4 separate regions of the Homo sapiens genome follow, and all the other regions are linked to region 2. The links are contacts of gene promoters, found by promoter capture Hi-C in blood cells and fetal thymus (Javierre and others, 2016). All regions are on one chromosome and are shown on one strand. The core of a region is centred on a gene start or on the middle of the fragment in contact, and the rest is flanking DNA. Distances in the headings are between cores, read along the strand shown.

Region 1 (3,131 bases), core at 539-3,038, 260 kb after region 2:
TTGCGTCCCAGGTTCAAGCGATTCTCCTGACTCAGCCTCTGAAGTAGCTGGGATCACAGGCATGTGCCACCACGCCCGGCTAATTTTGTGTTTTTAGTGCTAATTTTATATTTTTAGTAGAGATGGAGTTTCTCCATGTTGGTCAGGCTGGTCTGGAACTCCCAACCTCAGGTGATCCGCCCACCTCGGCCTCCCAGGAGTGCTGGGATTACAGATGTGAGCCACCGCGCCCGGCCGAACTCATCCATTTTAAAGTGTACCATTATTTGAGTTTTATTAAATGTATACAACTATGTAGTCATTACCATAGTCCCAGTTTTAGAACATTTCATCACCTAAAAAATTCCCGTGTTCATTTATAGTTGATCCCTGTTCCCAAGTGACTACTGATCTTCTGTCTCAGTAGTTTTGCCTTTTCTAGAAATTTCATACAATTTGAATTATACAATATGTAATCTTTTGTTACCTGGTTCTTTCTCTTAGCATAATGGTTGAGGTTCATCCATATTGTATCATGCATCAGTAGTGTGTTCTCTTTTATTGCTGAATAATGATTTTCCATTGTATGGATATGCCACATTTTGTTTACCCATTCATTTGTAAGTTGAGGGACATTGGGTTGTTTCTAATTTTGGGCTACTACGCAGTATGCTGCTGTGACCATTCATGGCCAGGGCTTAATATAGCCATGTGTTTTCATTTCTCTTGTATAGATAACTAGGAGTGGGATTGCTGGGTCACATGGTAAGTGTATGTTTAACATTTATTTATTTATTTATTTTTGAGACGGAGTCGTGCTCTGTTGCCTAGGCTGGAGTGCAGTGGCACGATCTCGGCTCACTGCAAGCTCCACCTCCTGGGTTCATGGCATTCTCCTGCCTCAGCCTCCTGAGTAGCTGGGACTACAGGCGCCCGCCGTGACGCCCGGCTAGTTTTTTGTGTTTTTAGTAGAGTCGGGGGTTTCACCGTGTTAGCCAGGATGGTCTCTATCTCCTGACCTCGTGATCCGCCTGCCTTGGCCTGGGATTACAGGTGTGAGCCATCGTGCCCAGCCGTGTTTAACATTTTAAGAAATAAACTGTTTTCCAAAGTGGCTCTACTACTTTACATTCCCACTAGCATTATGTAAGGGTTCCAGTTTCTCTGCTTCCTTGTTAGCACTTGGTATTTTAGGTCTTCTGGATTATAATCATTCTAGTGAGTGTGTAATACCTTGTGGTTTTAATTTGCATTCCCTAATGACTAGTGTCATTAACCACTAATGTAATTAATGATCTTTCCTTGTGCTTATTTGCTATTCATACATTTATTTTTTGTGGTGAAATGTCTGTTCAAATACTTTGTCTGTTTTTAAAAATTGCATTTTGTGCCTTACTGAGTTCTAAGAGAGAATTCTTTACATAGTTTGAATTATTTTATCAGATGTATGATTTGCAGATATTTTCTCCCATCCTGTTACCTGTATCTTTTTTTTTTAATCTTTTTTTTACTCCATCTAGTTCTGCTTCCTACTTTTCCATTTTCTAAATGGTGTCTTTTGAAGAGTAAAAGCTTAATTTTGATGAAGTCCAGTTTATCTTTATTTTCTTTTTTTAAAAAATTTTTCTTTTAAGGATTGTGCTTTTAGTGTCATATCTAGAAATCTTTGCCTAAACTAAGGCACAATTTTCTTCTGTGCTTTCTTTTAGCAATTTTATAGTTTTAGGTTTTACATTTAGATATGTGAACTCTTTTGAGTTAATTTTTGTGTGGTATGAAGTAATGGTCTGTGTTCTGTGTTTTGTTTGTTATGTATAAACAATTATTCAGTTGTTCCAGAACCCTTTGTTGAAAAGACTTTTTTTCTCCATTGAATTACATTGGCACCTTTGTTGAAAATTTACCATACATGTATGAGTTTCCTTTTAGACTCTGTTTTGTTCTATTGATCTATAGGTCTGTCTATTCCATTTTCTTTTTTTCCTTTTTTTACTCCATCTAGTTCTGCTTCCTACTTTTCCATTTTCTAAATGATGTCTGTTGAGTAAAAGCTTAATTTTGATGAAGTCCAGTATCTCCACTGTCTTGATTACCGTATGTAGCTTTATAGTAAGTCTTGAAGTCAGATGGTGTAAGTCTTTCAACTTTGCTCTTTTCTTTCAAGATTGCTTTGGATATTCTGGATCCTTTACATTTCTACAGATTTTGCAATCAACTATTAATTTTATTAAAAAGCTTGTGATTTTGATTGGGATTTTCATTTTGATTGGTTTTGATTGTTGTGTTCAAAATCTGTAGCTGTGCTGCCCGGTATGGTAGCTATGTGTGGCCATTGCTCATTTGAAATACAGTCAGTTTGAATTGAGATGTGCCGTAAGTCTAAAATACAGACTGGACTTAGAATGAAACAAAGGATAAAAATAGATTATCAATGCTTTTTTATGTGTTACATGTTGAAATAATACAATTTCAGATATATTAGGTTAAATAAAATAAATTATTAAAATTCACCCACTTAATTTTTCAATTTGCTGCTATATAGAAATACTTTTATGGCTCTTTCTTTGAATTCTAACATTTGGTTTTTGTATATATTGACTTTGTATTTTCTTTCTTCTTCTTTTTTTTTTTTTTTTTAATTTTTATTTTGTGACAGTGTCTTGCCCTGTCACCCAGGCTGGAGTGCAGTAGAGCTATCATGGTTCACTGCAACCTCAACCTCCCAGGTTCAAGTGATCCTTCTACCTCAGCCTCCCAGGTAGATGGGACAACAGGTTCATGTCACCATGCCCAGCTAATTTTTTGTACTTTTTGTAGAGACAGGGTTTTGCCATGTTGCCTTGGCTGGTCTTGAACTCCTGGGCTCAAGTGATTTGCCTGCCTTAGCCTCTGAAAGTGCTGGGATTACAAGCGTGAGCCAGTGTACCAGGCCAACTTTGTATTTTTTTTACCTTAGTAAATTCATAAATTCATTTATTAGTGTTTTTTTTCCCCCTGTGGAGTTTCACTCTTGTCCAGGCTTCAGTGCAATGGCAAATTTTTAAATTAAGGATTTTTGTGTCTATGTCTGTGGAATATTGGGGTTTTTTTTCTTGGTTATGTTTTATCATGGTTATGCTAACCTCATAAAATGAGTTTGGAAGAAATGTCCC
Region 2 (2,809 bases), core at 52-2,551:
TAGGACGGGGCGGGGGTGTCTGGCACAGGCCCGGCAGCTCTGGGCCCTTCTTCCCCCTGTGGTCAGAATAGACCAGCTGGAGATACGCACCCCAACCCCCGCAGCAGGGCTACTCTTAGGGAAACAGGAACTGGGACTGCAGCTTCCACTGGAAGGAAATGGGGCCACGATCAGACCAGGAGAAGCTATAAGAACTCACTTCATCACAATGTGAGCAGTCCCCACTCCAGGCTGGGAACAAGTAGGGATGGAACCCATTTTCAAAGCAAGAAAGTTTGAGAAGTCAGGGTTGGGGAGTGGAGCAGACAGTGTCAGCAGGGGCATGGGTCCTTGGTTCAAATAAGGTTGGTAGAGACTTAAGAAGAGCTTAGAGGGTGGCTGAACACAGGCTAGTGAAAGACACTGAAGTACCAAAGCTTGGGTGTTACATAGGGGATGGAGGTGTCTATGGCTCTAGGGTCCAAGTTGGGGGGTTGAGGACCTGGAGAATGGCTAGGGAAACAGGTGGTGTCCAAGGTGGTCCAGGTCTCAGTGGTGGCTCCAACGGGGGGCAAGGCGCGGGGTTGGGGGAAGAAGGAAGGGAGGGAGGGAGGGAGGGAGGGAGGGAGGGAGGGAGGTTGGTTGTGGGGTCCTAGGAATCCAGAGAAGGGGCATATTAAGGATCTGGGGTCTCAGGGATTTGAATAATTGGCCAGGATTCGGTGGGGCTCAGGGTCGCCATTCAGATGGCGGACTCGATACTGAAGGGTCTGGGGTCCTGAGGAGTCTCAGTCCCAGAGTTAGGCTTTTGGTCGATCGGGAGTTGGTCTGTCAAGGGCCTGGTCTTTTGTGGGTGATGCTGACACTTGGGGTCTCAGTCCCCGTGGGTCCGGGGGTCTCAGGGTCAGGTTCTCAAACTCCCTGTCTGATAGAGGTCCTGGCCTCGGGTCCCGGAGAGGGTGGGGTCCCTGGGTCGGTTCCGCGGGGCTGTGAAGGGGTCCTGCCCCAGGGGCGCGGAGGCCGGGCGGGAAGGGGCGCACTCACCTGCAGGCGGCGCAGGTAGGCTGGCGGCACGTAGCCCGTCTCACCACTGCGCGCCCGCGCGGCCAGCCACCAGTGCGCGCTGCTTCGCTCTAGCACCAGGAAGGTCTCGCCCGCGGCGAACGCCAGCGCGTTGGGCTCCGCCGAGCGGAACGCGTACAGCGCGCGGTACATGAGGCCGGGCAGGGCAGGTGCAGGGAAGGTGGCAAGGGCTGCGGCGCCACAACGCCAGGCCGGGAGCGCCGAGCCGCGCCGCGGTTGTCCCGCCCCGTGACACACTACGCAGGCGCGCGCGCGCCCGCCCGCCGAAGCCCCGCCCCGGGCTGTATCGTTCCACGCATCGGAGAGCAGCGCCCCCGCGCGGCCCCAAGAGGTGCGGCGGGGCTGGGGTCGACAGCTCGCTGTCTCCTCTGGTCCCTCCCGGCTCCAGGCCCCTCATCCCCGGACACCGCACCCTCACTCCTCACCCCGGCCTCAGTTTCACCCGTCCAGCCCTCTGCTCCCTTTCCCCGCTTAAGTCCGAGCGCTGCGTCCCGTCCTACCTCCCGGTGAAAGCGCGCTCCGCTCGTAGCGGGTGCGCCCCTACCGCCCTGGGGCAGTGGGTCCCATCTACTAATTGCAAGGACGGCGACCTCGAAAGGATGATCTTGCTGATCCGACACTTGGAAGCCCCCGCGGGGCCCGGCTCTCGGTGTGTCTAGGCCTCACCACCTGTCTTCACCGAGTGCCGGTGGTGGCCAGTGGGGAGCAAGTGTGGGGAGAAGGGGGCCACAAAAGCAGAAACCAGGCGGGGCTATTCCCTGTCTAAAGCCCTCCCATCTTTGCTCCCCACCCCTACTCCTCCTCTCTCTTCAGCTATGGCTGGTTTTCTCTATATTGGGCCTTTGCATATTCTGTTCCCTCTACCTGGGACAATTTTCCCTTCCCTCTCCTATAGTATTTGTCCGTCAAGCTCCCACCCCCATCAATCGCTATCATCTTGCTGTGTTTTATTGTCTTTATAGGACTTAAGATTTGCGATGCCCCTTTCTGAGAGCATAGAGGAGGGCTGAAAGAGGGAGTGGGGTACCACGGTGGCCTTAAGAGCCTATTTGATCCACCCAGCTTTCCAGTCAGCCCAGATCTCCAGATATATGAAATCCGTGTAATAAGAGTGCCTGGAAGACCCAGGGAAGAGGCCCTCAGGGTCCTGGAGAGACTGTGGCTGAGAATGGTCCAGCTACGCTCCACAGGAAGCCCGAGCCCAGGAAGCAGGAGGCGTGTACAGGCCAGTGTGTGCAAGTTTTCTATTTTTATCTGTATTTATTTTTTGAGACAGGGTCTTGCTCTGTCGTCCAGGCTGGAGTGCAGTGGGATGATCAAGCTCATTGCAGCCTTGATCTTCCAGGCTCAAGCCTACTGTCTCTGGGACTACAGGCATGCACCACCACACTCAGCTTTTTTTTTTTTTTTTTTTTTTTTTTTTTTTAGTAGAGACAAGGTCTTGCTATGTTGCTCTGGCTAGTCTCAAATTCCCGGACTCAAGCAGTCCTCCCAGTGTTGGGATTATGGGTGTCTGTCTGACCCAGTTGCCTATTTTTAGGCCTAAAGTACATAGGCCTAGTGTGAGGTTCAGGTGAGGGGTAGAACTGCTAGAAACTGACATCCAGACCCTGCCTTCTCTGCACCAGGTCTGGCTCTTCAGTTCAAGACCTCTCTTGGCCCTTCCTCCTCCCAGAAGCCCTCCTGGGGCAGGGCAGAATCTCGGGGTCTGTGCTGTCTGGGACTGCCTGAAGAATAAGACTGGTGA
Region 3 (3,024 bases), core at 144-2,643, 420 kb before region 2:
CACGGGAGAGAAGCCTTACACGTGCTTTGAGTGTGGGCGAAACTTTAGCCTCAAGTCCGCTCTTAGTGTACATCAGAGGATACACTCTGGGGAGAAGCCTTATGCATGCACGGAGTGTGGGCAAGGCTTTATCACGAAATCACAGCTCATCAGACACCAGAGGACACACACAGGAGAAAAGCCTTATGTCTGCGGAGAGTGTGGGCGAGGCTTTATAGCTCAGTCAACCCTCCACTACCACCGGAGTACACACTCCAAGGAAAAACCTTATGTGTGCAGCCAGTGTGGGCGAGGCTTTTGTGATAAATCAACTCTCCTCGCACACGAGCAGACACATTCAGGGGAGAAGCCTTATGTGTGTGGGGAATGTGGGCGGGGATTTGGCCGGAAGATACTCCTCAACAGACACTGGAGGACACACACAGGAGAGAAACCTTACGCATGCATCGAGTGTGGGCGAAACTTTAGCCACAAGTCCACTCTCAGCTTACATCAGAGGATACACTCGGGGGAGAAGCCTTATGCATGCGTGGAGTGTGGGCAAAGCTTTAGGAGAAAGTCACAGCTCATCATACACCAGAAGATACACTCGGGGAAAAGCTTTAGAGGTGCAAGGAGTGAGGATGTGATTTTAGCAACAAGTCAGCCATCAGCCACACCAGCGGAAATGCTTAGGGAGAAGCCTTGTTTGTAAGGTAATGTGGACAGAGCTGTACGTGGACATCATTACTTGTCACGTGTCAGAGGACACACTCGGGAGAAACCTTCATGGAGTGAGAGTAAGGTGTTGGCTGGAAGTGGCCCCTTAAGAGATACTTGGAGTCAAATCTATCCACTGTACGCCCACCCCACTCTTGTTCTAAGAGCTTTGGGGACAGTCTTTTGACCCCTTACATTCCTTTAGATGTGAAGATGACAGAGATCTAACTTCTGAGAGCAGAGGTGTCAAGTGACGGTCCCCTTGGAGGAATGGTCTTTGCATCTGACTACTTCCTTCTGCAACTGTGTTCTTCCATTAGCTTCCATGACACTCTCCTGCTTTATTTTTTTCTACATCTCTAGCCTTTGCTGTTTCCTCTCCTACCCCACCTTTAGATTTTACTCAGAGTTCAGTCTCCAGCCCTACAATCTGAGGGACACCTTTACCAGGTCCCCTTCCTAACCCTCCAGTCCCAAATCCAAGATTCTTTAACCACACTCTAAAAGTTCTTCAGACTCAGGACTTAAACATAGCCACGCCACCTTGGCCTTCAATGACAGGGATCTAGCAATGCTGCATCATCAGCCTTCCAATACCAGGTTTAAGGGTATTTTAAACACAGCTCCTCTTAAATCCTCCAATCTCAGTACCCAGTGTTTTAGCCATGCTCGGGTGGCTAAATTACATCCAGGAATGGTGCCAGGGCCTTTAGCCATTTGTCTCTCCTCACACTCCAGGGCCCATATGGCCCAGGTTCTGACAGTTTGCCTTACTCCCTTGGGCTGGGGCTAGCCCTACCTGATACCCTGTGTCAATGAGTGTACCTTGGAGAGCTATCCACTCAGGCCCCAGTGCCTCTATTTGCTAAGGGACTCTGCCACAGAAAAGAAGGGGAGAGATGTTCATGTAACCTCAAAATACTTAGGCTTGGTTTTGATGCTAGAGAGGAAAAAGGACTTGGAGAGAGAGAAGGAATGGCTGGTCCAGAGGCTTTTGTCCACTCCCTCTCACTGGAAGTGGTTGATCTCCAGGGAATCCCCAAGGTTAGCCTGCTTAGGGGAAGGGCTAGGGGTACCTGGAATGTAGGATCTCCCCCATGCCTGGCCTACCACCCTAATGTGTCTGGAATTGGTGGGTTCTTGGTCTTGCTGACTTCAAGAATGAAGCCGTGGACCCTCACGGTGAGTGTTACAATTCTTAAACATGGTGTGTCTGGAGTTTGTTCCTTCTGATGTTCGGACGTGTCCAGAGTTTCTAACTTCTGGTGGGTTTGTGGTCTCGCTTAGGAGTGAAGCTGCAGACCTTAGCAGTGTTACGGCTCTTAAAGGCAGCGCATCTGGAGTTGTTAGTTCCTTCCGGTGGGTTCGTGGTCTTGCTGGTTTCAGGAGTGAAGCTGCGGACCTTTGCGGTTAGTGTTACAGCTCTTAAAGGCGGCGCGGACCCAAAGAGTGACCAGCAGGAAGATTTATTGTGAAGAGTGAAAAAACAAAGCTTCCACAGCATGGAAGGGGACCTGAGTGGCTTGCCGCTGCTGGCTCGGGTAGCCTGCTTTTATCCCCTTATCCGGCCCCACCCACATCCTGCTGATTGGTCCATTTTACAGAGAGCATATTGGTCCGTTTTGACAGGGTGCTGATTGGTGCATTTACAATCCCTGAGCTAGACACAGAGTGCTGATTGGTGCATTTACAAGCCTCTAGCTAGACAAAAATTTTCCAAGTCCCCACTAGATTAGCTAGACACGCGTTTACAAACCTTTAGCTAGACACAGTGCTGATTGGTGCGTTTACAATCCTTTAGCTAGACACAAGTTCTCCAAGTCCCCGCTAGATTAGCTAGACACAGAGCACTGATTGGTGCGTTTACAAACCTTGAGCTAGACACAGAGTGCTGATTGGTGCATTTACAATCCTCTAGCTAGACATAAAAGTTTTCCAAGTCCCCACCAGGTTAGTTAGATACAGAGTGCTGATTGGTGCATCCACAAACCCCGAGCTAGACAGAGAGTGCTGCTTGGTGCATATACAATCCTCCAGCTAGACAAAAGTTCTCCAAGACCCCACCCAACTCAGGAGCCCAGCTGACTTCCCCTAGTGGATCCCGCACTGGGGCTGTGGGTGGAGCTGCCTGCTAGTCCTGTGCCTCACACCTGCACACCTCAGCCCTTGGGCGGTCGATGGGACGGGCAGCGCCTGTCGGGGAGTCTCGGGCTGCATGCGAGCCCATGGCGGTCGGGGGTGGCTTGGGCATGGCAGGCCGCAGGTCCCAAGCCCTGCCTCATGGGGAGGCGGCTGAGGCCCGGTGAGAATTCAAGTGCGGCGTGG
Region 4 (3,144 bases), core at 369-2,868, 280 kb before region 2:
TGGTGGCACCCATTCACTAGGGCAGCAGGTGCCCCAGCAGCACCAACTCACCAGCATGGGTGGAGGGGCCAGGTTAGCAGGTTCCCAGGCACCTGCAGCGTCAGCCAGCATGCAGCTCCTGGCTTCCCACGGGCGCCACTGACTCAGCAGTCAGAGGCTGTGGGTAACACTGCTGCCCCCTTTGCCAGCTTATAGGTGACAGAGGCTTCTATAGTCACTCACCGCTGGATAACTACTCCCCTTTTTGTCCTTCACACACTTTCATAATCAATCCCTTATATTTAAATTCCTTCCATTGGAAACACCTAGAGTGGTTTCTGGTTTTTTGTTGTTGTTGTTGTTGTTTTCTTTTTGAGACAGAGTCTCATTCTGCTGCTCAGGCTGGAGTGTGGTGGCATAATCTCAGCTCAGGCTGGAGTGTGGTGGCATAATCTCAGCTCAGGCTGGAGTGTGGTGGCATAATCTCAGCTCACTGAAACCTCTGCCTCCCAGGTTCAAGTGATTTTCCTTCCTCAGCCTCCCCAGTAGCTGGGATCACAGGTGCACACAATCACACCCGGCTAATTTCTGTATTTTCAGTAGAGATGGGGTTTCACCATGTTGATCAGGGTGGTCTCGAACTCCTGACCTCAAGTGATCCACCCACCTTGGCCTCCCAAAGTGCTGGGATTACAGGTGTGAGCCACTGTGCCCGGCTGTTTTCTTGACTAGTCACTCACTGTTATCTCAACTATGTCCTAAGACATAGCTCACCCTAAAACCAGAATTCACGTTAAAGACAGGGTAAGATTACTCACTAAGCTCCAGCACTACTGAATTCCACTGTTGTGATTTCTCTCTCTCTTTTTTTGAAGAGACAGGGTCTCACTGTCACCCAGTCTGGAGTGGAGTGGCATAATCTTTCACTGCAGCCTCAAACTCCTGGAGTCCAGCAATCCTCCCACCTCAACCTCTTAAATAGCTGAGACTACAGATGTGTGCTACCATGCCCAGCTAATTTTTAAACAGTTTTCGTAAAGATGGGGTCTGGCTATCTTGCCCAGGCTTGCAATTTATAGAGCTCCAGACACCCTCATTGGTAGCTGCTTCTGATAAATTCCACACTATGGCCAGAAGATGGCAGCAAACCACCAGCTTCAGCCACTTACCTGTGGCCCAGGACACCGGACCAGGTTTCCAAAATCTGAGCTTCACATTCCTAGACCTCCAGAGGTTCTCTTCATGGCCACCTGGACAACTGGCAAACCATTCTGTTTCCTTACACGTGCACATATCATCCAGATAACTGAAACTCTTATCAATAAAACCCCAACATCACAACCAGGGCATAAATTCTCTTTCAAACATCATGGTGATATCCTTATCTTAGATTTTTGGTAAACATTTGGAATTGGATAAACCATCATCCTTAATTAAGACAGAGAACACTTTTTTTTTTTTTTTTTTGAGATGGAGTTTTGCTCGTCACCCAGGCTGGAGTGCAGTGGCGCGATCTCGACTCAGTGCAACCTCCGCCTCCCGGGTTCAAGCGATTCTCCTGTCTCAGCCTCCTGAGTAGCTGGGATGAGAGGCGCCCGCCACCACACCTGGCTAATTTTTTGTATTTTTAGAAGAGACGGGGTTTTGCCATGTTGGGCAGGCTGGTCTCAAACTCCTGACCTCAGATGATCCGCCTGCCTCGGCCTCCCAAAGTGTTGGGATTACAGGGGTGAGCCACTGCGCCTGGCCGACAGAACACTTTTAAAGAGAGATCCATAAAACATCGCCAGTCAGCTGACCTAGGTAGTTTGGGGTGTATTTGTTCTTCAATGTGGCATCCTTAGGGAACCTGGTGGAGGAAACACATGCATCAGCAGCCATTGGTGCCAAGCAGAACACAGCTAGGTTCCCTGTATCCCCCAGCACCACCCAGAGTCACCTGTTGGCACTGGCCAGTGGGATCCAGGTCCTGACCATTTGGAAGGTTTCAGGTGGCTTCTAAGAATTCCAACATTCATCAGCATAAATTCAGCTGTTATCTTAATTAGCACGATTATTTCAGTATCAGAAAATTAATAAAAATATAGAACTCCTGGGTCATGTAACCATTTGGACAATTATTCCAACTTTTAAGTTGGTGAAAACGCTTTTTAATAAAGCACATCACTCCATAAAACGCCTTAAGGAGCCCCGGGTGGTAATGAGAAACAAAGGCCCTTTGTATGCTAACAGGTTTGTGAAAAATGTAATAATGAGGGCACACTTTCGTTGCAGTCTTAATAAAAATTAGGAAAAGATTGATCAAACTGAATTACAAATGTTCTATGCTGAAATTGTGGTCATGACCCAAGTTAAGCGATCACAAATTCTTGCTGGTGTTGGAATCTCCATTCTTGGTCATGGTTTGGAGTGAAGACAGAATTTCCTATCTTCTTGTGCCAGGTTTTTCTTCTCTATGTCTGTTATTATAACAATGTTCTGTGGCGGCTGAGCCATGACTCAGTGAGTGACTCAAAGCACGTTCAGTACTCACCCCTCCCGCGGGCACGTGCCCAGGCTTGCAGGCACATGGCCCCCCTCTCCCGGGAGCCTTCACCTACCCCTAAAACCTGCAGGGGCCTGAACCTGGAACAGAGAGGCCTCTGGAACAGAGGCATGGCTCTGTCGAGGTCTGTGGTGCTGACCAAGGCTGCTTCCCTCTGTGTCTGCTTGAAGTCCACCCTCAAGTGGATTTCCCATCCACCCTGCTCCCAGAGATGGTCAAGATGGAGACCCATTCCATGGTCTCCAACGGGAAAAGTCAGGACCATTCTGGGTGGCTATGAAAACCTGGCCAGAGCATCCAAGCTCACATGCTCCCAAATGATGGCACCTGGCTGCTGACCTGACTGTGGTCCCCACATCCGGCAGAAATGGGAAAGAAGGGACAATGGAGCCACAGCGAAGAATAGCAGCTATGACTACCCCCGGCACAGACAAGACCAACATGGCTCCTTAGGGACAAGGACTTTGTGGATTGTAGGGGCAACCCTACAGTGGATGGCTTTATTTAGGGCCAAAAAAAGGCAGGGGATAGGAGTCCTCCTGGAATTCTATCAGTCTGTCTCTCTCTAAACACTCAATGAAGACCTCGAGGGGAGGTTGTGGTCTCTGTGCCAGACGAGA

The links. Contacts are between HindIII fragments. The CHiCAGO score rates a contact against its expected background, and 5 or more counts as called.
Region 1: a fragment that was not itself captured here is called in contact with the fragment with the promoter of NCKIPSD in region 2 in 4 of 17 cell types (M2 macrophages, naive CD8 T cells, megakaryocytes and 1 more); the score reaches 5.9 in M2 macrophages.
Region 3: a fragment that was not itself captured here is called in contact with the fragment with the promoter of NCKIPSD in region 2 in 1 of 17 cell types (neutrophils); the score reaches 5.3 in neutrophils.
Region 4: a contact is called between a fragment that was not itself captured here and the fragment with the promoter of NCKIPSD in region 2, in 1 of 17 cell types (neutrophils). The highest score is 8.6, in neutrophils.

What each region holds. Positions count from the first base shown.
Region 1 is chr3:48,948,353-48,951,483 of GRCh38, forward strand. The region is part of intron 3 of ARIH2 (ariadne RBR E3 ubiquitin protein ligase 2); the gene reads left to right. Among named protein-coding and RNA genes, the nearest start is that of ARIH2OS, 31 kb to the left of the region's middle. The HindIII fragment of the contact is 479 bases long and covers 1,550-2,028 here.
Region 2 is chr3:48,684,614-48,687,422 of GRCh38, forward strand. NCKIPSD (NCK interacting protein with SH3 domain) reads right to left here and starts at 1,302. Exons shown (of 13, transcript NM_016453.4): 1 at 1,024-1,302. The coding sequence starts at 1,194. RefSeq lists silencers at 810-1,529, 923-1,217 and enhancers at 1,414-2,145, 1,740-1,809. The HindIII fragment of the contact is 7,513 bases long and covers 415-2,809 here.
Region 3 is chr3:48,269,089-48,272,112 of GRCh38, forward strand. It overlaps ZNF589 (zinc finger protein 589), which reads left to right. Exons shown (of 4, transcript NM_016089.3): 4 at 1-1,902. Among named protein-coding and RNA genes, the nearest start is that of ZNF589, 29 kb to the left of the region's middle. The HindIII fragment of the contact is 1,591 bases long and covers 599-2,189 here.
Region 4 is chr3:48,399,942-48,403,085 of GRCh38, forward strand. No RefSeq gene overlaps it. Among named protein-coding and RNA genes, the nearest start is that of PLXNB1, 29 kb to the right of the region's middle. The HindIII fragment of the contact is 4,211 bases long and covers 1-3,144 here.